Regions from separate parts of the Homo sapiens genome. Here region 2 is linked to region 1. Evidence: promoter capture Hi-C in 16 types of primary human blood cells and fetal thymus (Javierre and others, 2016). All regions are on one chromosome and are shown on one strand. The core of a region is centred on a gene start or on the middle of the fragment in contact, and the rest is flanking DNA. Distances in the headings are between cores, read along the strand shown. Region 1 holds the start of SLC39A3 (solute carrier family 39 member 3). Region 2 holds the start of JSRP1 (junctional sarcoplasmic reticulum protein 1).

Evidence for each region. Contacts are between HindIII fragments. The CHiCAGO score rates a contact against its expected background, and 5 or more counts as called.
Region 2: a contact is called between the fragment with the promoter of JSRP1 here and the fragment with the promoter of SLC39A3 in region 1, in 3 of 17 cell types (total B cells, naive B cells and fetal thymus). The highest score is 5.6, in total B cells.

The regions. Positions count from the first base shown.
Region 1 is chr19:2,736,478-2,742,086 of GRCh38, reverse strand. SLC39A3 (solute carrier family 39 member 3) reads left to right here and starts at 2,070. Exons shown (of 3, transcript NM_144564.5): 1 at 2,070-2,142; 2 at 4,708-5,039. The coding sequence starts at 4,830. RefSeq lists enhancers at 1,789-1,838, 2,539-2,588 and silencers at 1,899-2,298, 2,707-2,974. The HindIII fragment of the contact is 5,051 bases long and covers 1-3,601 here.
Region 2 is chr19:2,254,572-2,260,180 of GRCh38, reverse strand. JSRP1 (junctional sarcoplasmic reticulum protein 1) reads left to right here and starts at 3,764. Exons shown (of 7, transcript NM_144616.4): 1 at 3,764-3,798; 2 at 4,837-4,975. The coding sequence starts at 4,867. RefSeq lists an enhancer at 4,010-4,089. The HindIII fragment of the contact is 8,991 bases long and covers 1,426-5,609 here.

The DNA of each region.
Region 1 (5,609 bases), core at 821-3,320:
CCCCAAACTTAGTGCCAGCAGGCATTGTGGCTCATGCCTGTAATCTCAGCACTTTGGGAGGCTGAGGTGGGAGGGTTTCCTGAATCCAGGAGTTCAAGACTGGCCTGTGTGACATTAGGTAAAAAATTAGCTGGGCATGGTGGCACATGCTCCCAGCTACTCGGGAGGCTGAGGTGGGAGGACTGCTTGAGCCCAGGAGGTCATGGCTGCAGTGAGCTGTGATTGCACCACTGCACTCCAGCCTGGGTGATGGGGCAGGACCCTGTCTCAAAATACAAGCAAACAAACACAAAACTAAGTGGCTAGAACAGCATGTGTTATCTCAGTTTCTGTGGGTGAGGAATTCAGATGCAGTTCATATGGGTCTTCTGTTTTCAGGGTCTTTGTTTTTCTTTCTTTCTTCTTCTTCTTCTTCTTTTTTTTTCTTTTGAGACAGGGTCTCACTCTGTTGCCCAGGCTGGAGTGTAATGGTAATGATTTCAGCTCGCTGTCACCTCTGCCTCCTGGGTCCAAGTGATTCTGATGCCTCAGCCTCCTTAGTAGCTGGGACTACAGGTGCCCGCCACCATGCCTGGCTAATTTTGGTATTTTTAGTAGAGATGGGGTTTTGCCGTGTTGGCCAGGCTAGTCTCAAACTCCTGACTTTAAGTGACCTGCCTACCTCGGCCTTCCAAAGTGCTGGGATTATAGGCATGAGCTACCACATGCAGCCCTGTTTTAGGGTGTTTCAAAGGCTGCAATTGAAGTGAAGCAGTCATCCAAAGGCTCAACTGGGGCAGGACCCTCTTCCATGATCACGTTCATGGCTGTTGGTAGCATTTGGTTCCTTATGGACGCTTGTGCTGAGGGTCTCATTGCCTTGCTGACTGTTGGCTGGAGGACACCCTCAGTTCCTTTCCCTCTGGATCTCTCCAGCATCTTAGCTTGCTTTGTCAAGACACGTAGGCTGAGAAGGCGAGAGACAGGCTCTGCTGGCAAAACAGAAGTCACAATCTCTCATAGCCTAATCGCAGAATGACATCCCATTCATTTGCCATTTTCTATTTGTTAGAATCAAGTCATCAGGCCAAGCGCAGTGGCTCATGCCTGTAATCCCAGCACTTTGGGAGGCCAAGGTAAGAGGATCACCTGAGGTCAGGAGTTCAAGACCAGCCTGGCCAACATGGTGAAACCCCGTCTCTACTAAAAACACAAAAATTAGCCGGCATAGTGGCACACGCCTATAATCCCAGCTACTCGGGAGGCTGAGGCAGGAGAATCGCTTGAACACGGGAGTCGGAAGTTGCAGTGAGCCAAGATCGCGCCATTGCACTCCAGCCTGAGTGACAAGAGCGAGACTCTGTCTCAAAAAAAACCTTTTTTTTTTTTTTAGAGATGGGGTCTCACTATGCTGCCCAGGCTGGCCTTGAACTCCTGGACTCAAGCGATCCTCCCGCCTCGGTCTCTTAAAGTGCTGAGATTACAAGTGTGAGCCACTGCGCCCTGCCAAGATTTGGTTTTTAACTTACGCGTTACCTCCTATACTTATTTTTTCATGGTTTGAACATGTAACATCTACTTTCTTAGCAATTTTGCAGTATGCAATGCATTGTTACGAGCTGTAGCCACCATGATGTACAGTCGATCTCTTGGACTTACTCCTCCTGCCTATCAACAGAGATTTGTTGAAGGGATGAATCTGCTTCTTCAGCCGTCGGTAAGGGGATCAGCAGCGAGGACGCTGAGAGAGGAGCCGCCTCCGTTGGAAATCCCTTCCCATCCACCTCCAAGCCTCTTTCCAAGCGGGATTCAGCACCAGGCGCCCCTGGACAGCTCTGGAAACCCAACCCTGCCGGAACCGTTCCTCGCCAATCCGGGTTTCCCGCCGGGGCCGCTTGGTGGCTGCGCCCGCCGCTCAGCGGGAGGAAACCCCTTTCCTGTGCCGGTAGGAGAGGTGGAGTCGCATATGAGTGGCAGGTTTCGCAGCCAATAGTATGGAAAGTTCTGCCAGCGGGTCTCGGGGAGGCCAATGGGCAGGGGCGTGGGCGGGGCGTGGACCAGCCGCGCCGAGCGGGGCCTCTCCGGGCCGCGTCTGTGGGGTCGAGACTGCGCGGCCGTTGGGCGTGCAGCGGCGCCAGTCGGCGGACGAGGGGCCCCCGGGAGGTAGGTGCGGGCAGAGAGAGGACCTGGGGCGGCGGGGCGGGGCGGCGCTGAGCGGCCGGGGGTCTGTTGGACTCTACCCGCACGTTAGCCGAGGCCCGTCTCCGGTGCCCGGTAGCGCGAGGCACACAGAAGGCGCTCAATAAGTGCTGATTGAATGAATGAGCCCGTGCCCTCCTCATCCCGGCCCGAGCAGCCTCCGGTTTGAGAGCGTGCAGGCCACCCTCACCTTCACTGTACAGACTGAGGTATCCAGATGCCGGACAGGTCTTTATTGGGCGCCTACTGTGTGCCTGGGTGGCTCTGCGCTGGGTGCAGCTGGCCCTGAGCAAGACAGACAGCCTGGTCCCGCCCAGCTCACCGCCGGGGGGGAGGGACGACTTTAAATGACTTAAAATAATGTAATTCCTAGCTCCCTCTGTAGCACAAAATAAAAGAAAATAACACCAGGGAAGGGGGCGGGGAGAGCTCTGAGTGGAGACATCTGAGCAGTGACCCGAAGACCTGAATGCAGTGAGGTAGCGGGGCCATGAGGCGCTTGGGGCTGATGGTGGGGGAGAAAACCCAGTTGGGGAAAACTCAAGGACAGGGGAGGAGCTGAGATTCCTCCTAAGAACGGTGACATTTTGGGGTCCAGGGTGAAACCGACTTCACTTTGGCCCATTGCATCAGGTAAAATGCGGCCCTTATCAGTGGCCACACGCTTCCCCTCGTCCATGTGTTCAGCCAGCGGTTTTTGAGTATCTGTTCTGCAGCAGGCCTTCCGGCGGGTACAGGGATATGGTTTAGGGCAGGAGTCAGCCAGGGGCAGAGAGGGAGGCCCTTTTTTTTTTTTTTTTTTTTTTTTTGAGACGGAGTCTTGCTCTGCAGCCCAGGCTGGAGTACAATGGCGCGATCTCGGCTCACTGCAAGCTCCACCTCCTGGGTTGAAGCAATTCTCCTGCCTCAGCCTCCCGAGTAACTGGGATTACAGGCACGTACCACCATGCCCAGCTAATTTTTTTTTTTTTTGAGACAGAGTCTTACTCTGTCACCCAGGCTGGAGTGCAATGGCTTGATCTTGGCTCACTGCAACCTCCACCTCCTGGGTTCAAGTGATTCTCCTGCCTCAGCCTCCCAAGTAGCTGGGATTACAGGTGCCCACTACCACACCCAGCTAATTTTTGTATTTTTAGTAGAGACAGTGTTTCACTGTGTTGGCCAGGCTGGTCTTGAACTCTCGACCTCAGGTGCTGGTCTCGAACTCTCGACCTCAGGTGATCTGCCCACCTCAGCCTCCCAAAGTGCTGAGATTACAGGTGTGAGCCACCACTCCCAACCGAGGGAGGCCCTTTTGAGGGGTCCTGGATGCAGAGAAGCAAGAAAGAAGAAGGAGGCCTCGCTGGAAGGTCAGGGGAAAGAGAGCAGTGTTCCAGGTGGAGAGAGGAGAACCCATGCAGAGGTCCTGAGGCACGAGCAAGCTTGGCACAGAAAGGACCAGTGAGGGCCGAGGCGAGGCAGGAGCTTGTCATGCAGAGCTTCAGCCTCAGGGTACAGAGTTTAGACTTTATTTCGGGGCATGGGGAAGCCATGGACCACCACCATCCAATAGCATGTTCTGCAGTGATGAGAGTGTTCCCTTTGCTGTCAAATACGGTAACCACAGAAGTCAAGTAGGCTTGTGTGACTACTGAGCGCTTGAAATATGGCCAGGGAGACTGAGGAGCGGAATTTTGTATTTTATTTAGTTTTTTTTTTTTTTTTTTTTTGAGATGGAGTTTTGCTCTTGTTGCCCAGCCTGGAGTGCGGTGGTGCCATCTTGGCTCACTGCAACCTCTGCCTCCTGGGTTCAAGCGATTCTCTTGCCTCAGCCTCCAGAGTAGCTGGGATTACAGGTGCCTGCCACCACGGCCGGCTAATTTTTGTATTTTTGGTAGAGACGGCGTTTCACCATGTTGTCCAGGCTGGTCTCGAATTCCTGACCTCAGGTGATCCACCCACCTCGGCCTCCCAAAGTTCTGGGATTGCAGGTGTGAGCCACTACACCCAGCCTGGATTTTTTTTAATTTTGATGAACTTTTTTCTTTTTTTGAGACAGTGTATTAGTCAGGGTTCTCTAGAGGGACAGAACTAATGGAATAGTTATATATATAAAGGGAAGTTTATTAAGTATTAATTGCACACGATTACAGGGTCTCACAATACATTGTCTGCAGATTGAGGAGCAAAGAGAGCCAGTCCGAGTTCCAAAACTGAAGAACTGGCCAGGTGCAGTGGCTCACGCCTATAATCCTAGCACTTTGGGAGGCCGAGGCAGGCGGATCACGAGGTCAGGAGTTCGAGACCAGCCTGGCCAACATGATGAAACCTCGTCTCTACTACAAATACAAAAAAAATTAGCTGGGAGTGGTGGCGCGTGTCTGTAATCCCAGCTACTAGGCAGGAGAATTGCTTGAATCCAGGAAGCGGAGGTTGCAGTGAGCGGAGATTGCACCATTGCACTCCAGCCTGGCAACAGAGCGAGACTCTGTCTAAAAAAAAAAAAAGAAAAAAGAAAGAAAGCTAATGCAGTGCCCCTGATGTTCACAGTTGCTGGACTGAGACATGAGCCTCCAACTGTGTGGTTGGGCTCGGTAGCACATCGTGGGACTTGGGTGTGCGCCCACAGATGGTTTGGCCCTGCAGTGACCAGAGCAGCCCAAGCCGCCACCATGGTGAAATTGCTAGTGGCCAAAATCCTGTGCATGGTGGGCGTGTTCTTCTTCATGCTGCTCGGCTCCCTGCTCCCCGTGAAGATCATCGAGACAGATTTTGAGAAGGCCCATCGCTCGAAAAAGATCCTCTCTCTCTGCAACACCTTTGGAGGAGGGGTGTTTCTGGCCACGTGCTTCAACGCTCTGCTGCCCGCTGTGAGGGAAAAGGTAAGGGCTCCCTGGGCACTAGCAGCAGCCCTTGGCACCTTATGGCCAAGGGACTCTGATGCATTTTCAACACTGATGCCAAGTTCAGTGAAGGCCTTGATGCTGTAAGGGTGACGGAAAGTAGGAAGTGAATTTGCTGTGTGATTGTGAACTGGTTACTTTCTGTCTCTGTGCTCTACCGGCCAAACAAGGGGTTTGGACCAGACCTGGGATTCCCAACAGGTGGACTTGTCGGTTGTCACCTGATAATCAGACCAGACTACCCACCTAGGTAGGGCACACTCTGTCCTGAAGCTGGAAAGCATGGCCTCTCTTCGGTTCCTATATCAGTCAGCTACTGTTGCGTAACAAATTATAGCAAACTGAGCACCTTAGGACTACAGACGTTTATCATCTCACAGTTTCTGTGAGTCAGGGGTCTGGGCACTGCTTCAGGAGCTCACAAGGCAGCAGTCACAGTGTCTCCTGGGCTGTGGTCTCATCTCAACGTTCAACCGGGGATGGGTCGGCCTCTAAGCTCATGTGGTTGTAAGCCAGGTTCAGTTCCTCATTGGTTGTCAGACCGAAGGT
Region 2 (5,609 bases), core at 2,515-5,014, 480 kb after region 1:
CAGCTGGGCGCAGTGGCTCACGCCTGTAATCTCAGCACTTTGGGAGGCCGAGGCAGGTGGATCACCTGAGGTCAGGAGTTTGAGACCAGCCTGGTCGACATGGCAAAACGCTGTCACTACTAAAAATACAAAAATTAGCTGGATGTGGTGGCAGGCACCTGTAATCGCAGCTACTTGGGAGGCTGGGGCAGGAGAATCACTTGAACCCGGGAGGCAGAGGTTGCAGAGAGCCGAGATTGTGCCACTGCACTCCAGTCTGGGTGACAAGAGCGAAACTCCATCTCAAAAAAAAAAAAAAATTAGCTGGGCATGGTGGCATATGCCTGTAATCCCAGCTCCTCAGGAGACTGAGGCAGGAGAATCGCTTGAGCCTGGGAGGCAGAGGTTGCAATGAGCAGAGATGGCCCCACTGCACTGGAGCCTGGGCCACAGAGTGAGACTCTGTCTCATAAATAGAAAATAAAAAATTAGCTGCGTGTGGTGTCAGGCACCTGTGGTCCCAGCTACTCAGGAGGCTGAGGTGGGATGACCACCTGAGCTGAAGAGGCTGAGGCTGTAGTGAGCCCTGATTGCGCCAACGCATGCCAGCCTGGGTGACGGAGATGAGAGCCTGTCTCAAAAAACAAACAAATGAAATCATATTTTGCAGCAACATGGATGGAGCTGGAGATCATCATCCTAAGTGAAATGACTCAGCAACCACCACCCCTGTCTTATTCCAGAACATTCTTGTCACCCTAAATGAAGCTCCATCCCCATCAGCCATCACTCCCCATCCCCTTCCCAGCCCCGGCACCCACAAATCCCCTTCCTGTCTCTGTGAATTGGCCTGTCCTGGACATTTCTTTTTTTTTTTTTTTTTTTTTTTGAGACGGAGTCTCGCTCTGTCGCCCGGGCTGGAGTGCAGTGGCGTGATCTCAGCTCACTGCAAGCTCCGCCTCCCGGGTTCACGCCATTCTCCTGCCTCAGCCTCCCAAGTAGCTGGGACTACAGGCGCCCGCCACCACGCCCGGCTGATTTTTTGTATTTTTAGTAGAGACGGGGTTTCACCGTGTTAGCCAGGATGGTCTCGATCTCCTGACCTCGTGATCCACCCACCTTGGCCTCCCAAAGTGCTGGGATTACAGGCATGAGCCACTGTACCCGGCCCTGTCCTGGACATTTCATAGAAATGGGATCACATACAGCATGGCCTTCTGTGTCTGGCACCTCTCACCGAGCGTGACATCCTTAAAGTGCATTCACGCCATGGCCGCAGTCAGAGCCTCGTTCCTGTTCACGGCTGTGTCGTACTTCACCGTGTGGAAGGGCCACGCTGTGTTGATCCGTGTATCTGAGGATGGAACGCTAGAGCTGCCTACACCATGTGGCTGCGGAGAATCGTGCTGCCCTGAACTTGGGTGTGCAAATATCTGAGTCCAAGCTTCGGATTCCTTTTCGTAGATACCTAGGAGTAGAGTTTCTGCATCTTATGGTCATTCTATTTTAGCTTTTTGAGGAACTGCCAAGCTGTAATATACTTTTAGGAGGGGCCAAGCACTGTGGCTCACGCCTGTAATCCCAACACTTCAGGAGGCCAGAGTGGGCAGATCGCCTGAGGTCAGGAGTTTGAGACCAGCCTGATTAACATGGTGAAACCCCATCTCTGCTAAAAATATGAAAATTAGCCAGGCGCAGTGGTGCATGCCTGTAATCCTAGGTCCTCGGGAGGCTGAGGCAGGAGAATCGCTTGAACCCAGGAGGCAGAGGTTGCAGTGAGCCGAGATCGCGCCATTGCACTCCAGCCTGGGTGACAGAGAGAGACTCCATCTCAACAACAACAAAAAAACTTTTAGGAAGAAAAAATAAATCTAGGTTACAAACAAGATGTTCAGCCCTTCGCTAATTATGCCAGCTTTATAAAAATAAATATGGAACTAATAATAAAATCACAAGTTACAAACAGCGGAAAGAACATGTCAAACTATTAAACAGTGTCTGTTTGGGGGCGGGAAGATGACAGGTGCTTTACAGTTTTTGCTTTCAGCTTCTCTTTGTTTCCTGTTTGTCTCTGCCTTGTGTCATACAGAAAAAAATGAGAGCCATTTCTTTTTTTTTTTCTTTTTGAGACAGAGTCTCGCTCTGTCGCCCAGGCTGGAGTGCAGTGGTGCCATCTCGGCTCACTGCAAACTCTGCCTCCCGGGTTCACGCCATTCTCCTGCCTCAGCCTCCCGAGTAGCTGGGACTACAGGCGCCCGCCACGACACTCAGCTAATTTTTTGTATTTTTAGTAGAGACGGGGTTTCACCGTGTTAGCCAGGAGGGTCTCAATCTCCTGACCTTGTGATCCACCTGCCTTGGCCTCCCAAAGTGCTGGGATTACAGGCGTGAGCCACCGCGCCCGGCCGAGAGCCGTTTCTAAAGCGGAGGGAGTGGGGACCAGGGAACCCCAGCCCTTGCTTTGCTGAAGGCGGGCTGGCCTTCTGGGTCTCTTGGTAGTTCCTGGGGAGGCCCTATTCACTCAGAATTATTATTATTATTTGAGACAGAGTCTCACTCTGTCGCCCAGGCTGGAGTGCAATGATGTGATCTCGGCTCACTGCAACCTCCACCTCCCGGGTTCAAGCAATTCTCCTGCCTCAGCCTCCCCAGTAGCTGGGATTACAGGCATCCACTATCACGCCTCACTAATTTTTGTATTTTTAATAGAGACAAGATTTCACCATGTTGGCCAGGCTGGTGTCAAACTCCCGACCTCAGGCGATCCGCCCGCCTCAGCCTCCCACAGTGCTGGGATTACAGGCGTGAGCCACCGCGCCCGGCCATTCACTCAGGATTTTTAACACACAGGCCTCACCACCAAAATCCACTTCCCCTCTTCCCTCAGGACTCCCAGAGTCACCATGCTTTGCAGGTAGGGCTCAAACATCTGCCTGCAGGCCTTAGAATGTGCCTTTGGGGGCTGAGAGACCCCGGGTCCTCTCCAGAGCAGAGGCGTCAGGTTTCTCTGCATGACGGTGTGGGAGCAGGCAGTTCCGAGTGTATGAGCCTGCCAGAGCCACAGAAACAAATGACCCCAAATACAGTGGCTTTAAACAGCAGGAATGAATGCATTGCAGGGGCTCCCGCCTGGGATCCCAGCACTTTGGGTGGCCAAGGCGAGCGGATCACATGGATTACTTGCGGTCAGGAGTTCGAGAGCAGCCTGGCCAACATAGGGAAACCCTGTCTCTACTGAAAAAAAAATACAAAAATTAGTCCGGGTGCAGTGGCTCACGCCTGTAATTCCAGCAATTTGGGAGGCCAAGGTGGGCGGATTCCGAGGTCAGGAGACCGAGACCATCCTGGCTAACACGGTGAAACCCCATCTCTACTAAAAATACAAAAAAAATTAGCCGGGCGCGGTGGCGGGCGCCTGTAGTCCCAGCTACTCGGGAGGCTGAGGCACGGGAATGGCGTGAACCCGGGAGGCGGAGCTTGCAGTGAGTGGAGATCGCGCCACCGCACTCCAGCCTGGGAGACAGAGCGAGACTCCGTCTCAAAAAAAATTGAAAACTTACCGGGTGTGATGGTGCGCGCCTGTAGTCCCAGCTGCAGGCGCTACGTCTCCCTGGGTGGCAGTGGCGAGTGCTGAGTAGGAGCAATGCCCTGCCCTGCTGCAATGGCAGGGAAGGGTGGGGGACTCCCCGGCTGTGACCTCACTCCAGCGGGCATGCTGATTGGCCCACCCGCGGTCTCTGGCCACCTGTTGCCGTCCATCACGGGGCCACCCTCCCCATCCTCCGTCCTGTCCACAAGGCTCAGCAAAGCGGCTGGCGGGTAAGCGAGGCTCGGGGGTAAGGAAGTGAGGCTGGGGGAATCCCGGGCAGAGGTGTGGGCTCCCGGGGTGTGAAGGGGTGTTGCAGAGGACTGTAAGGGTCCCCAATTCCTGGAGCTGCCCCCATGCACACCCAGGGGCCACACACCAGCCTCCCATGCTTCTTGGGCCCCTCCCCCACTGCCACGCAATAGGCCCCTTCCAGGTCTTGGAGCCCCAGGGCTGGGTGGTTTTTCAGCCTAGATACAGGGACACCCTAATCCCAGCAGCCAGAGGCCATGGGGACCCTGAAGAGTACAGCTTTGGGTCTGACTTGAAGCTCCTTGCGACCTCCAGCCAATGGCACTGTCTCTAGCCTCGGTTTCCTCATCTGTCCTATGGGAACAGAGTTAGTGGGACAAGGCAGGGTACTCTGTGTCAGGATCAGAAGACCCCCAACCACAACCGGGACCCTCCTCCCCTGCCCCGGCCTGTCACGACCAGAGCCAGGATGGTTCTGCTGCTGGGGCCTGAGCCTGTAGACTCACAGGGTCACGCAGCAGGATGTGGGTGCCCAGAATGGCAAGTCAGGGTGGCCCAGAGGGAGACCCCATGAGAGCAGAGGCCTGGGAGGGGCTGGGGCACCTGTTAGCCTGTCCCGCTGGCCTCAGGCACCAGATAAAAATAGTCCCTGGTCTCAGAGAACATGAGCTGACTCTGGGGCCAAGAGTTTCGGTTTGGGGTGCGTCTGGGACTCATTGCTGTGTTGTCCTGCAGGGGCTCCCGCCCTCTCTGGGCCAGAGCAGCCTGGGCTACTGTACTGATGGATACTGGACCCCAGTGAGGCTGGGCGGTAGGGAGGGGTCCCAGGGCAGGCATGCGGGGTCAGAGAGATGCCTGGAGTGGGCGCCGGGCCATGCCTGGCATGAGTATGAATTTGCCGAGTGAGGAGGGGTGGGAGGACGGGGCCTGTTAGTTGGTGTCCGCAGAACCTCCAGGTCAGGCCCAGGCCTGTGGCAGAGACTCAGTAAATGCAAGACCTTGTTCCCCACCCCTCCCAGCCTGGCCTGGGACCTGCTGCTGCTCCAGCCATGTCCATGACAACCAGAGCCTGGGAGGAGCTGGATGGCGGCCTGGGCAGCTGCCAGGCCCTGGAGGACCACTCTGCGCTGGCCGAGACCCAGGAGGACAGGGCTTCAGGTACCCTTGTGGCGCTGGCGGGAGGAAGCCCTTCCCTGATGGTCCCCTTGAGCCAGGAGGCCCATCTTCAGAGACTAGAGCTTCTTAGCCTCCCACACTGGACTGGCTTATAGTGTGCTCCCCATGTTCAACCCCTGGCCCTCATTTCTGCCTCAGGGGTCTGTAAGGAGCCCCCAAGGAAGACAGGTGCTGGGCCACACAGATCTAGGTTCGAATCCCACGTTGCCACTGAAATGCTGGGTGTCTTTGGGCAAAGCTGTCTCCAAGCCTGTCTGCTTTCTTTATATTTTTATATATTTTTATTATTATTTTTTGAGACAGAGCCTCATTCTGTCTTCCATGCTGGAGTACAGTGACATGATCATAAGTCACTGCAGCCTTGACCTCCCAGGCTCAAGTGATCCTCCTGCCTCAGCCTCCCAAGTAGCTGGGGCCACAGGTGCAGGCCACCATGCCTCGCTAATTTTTTTTTTTTTTTTTTTTTAGAGATGGGGTCTCACTATGTTGCCCAGGCTGGTCTCAAACTCCTGGGCTCAGGTGATCCTCCCACCTCAGTCTCCCCAAAATGCTGGATTCCAGGTGTGAACCACTGTGCTGGCCTCCACCTACTTTCTTATCTATAAGATGGGGTTAG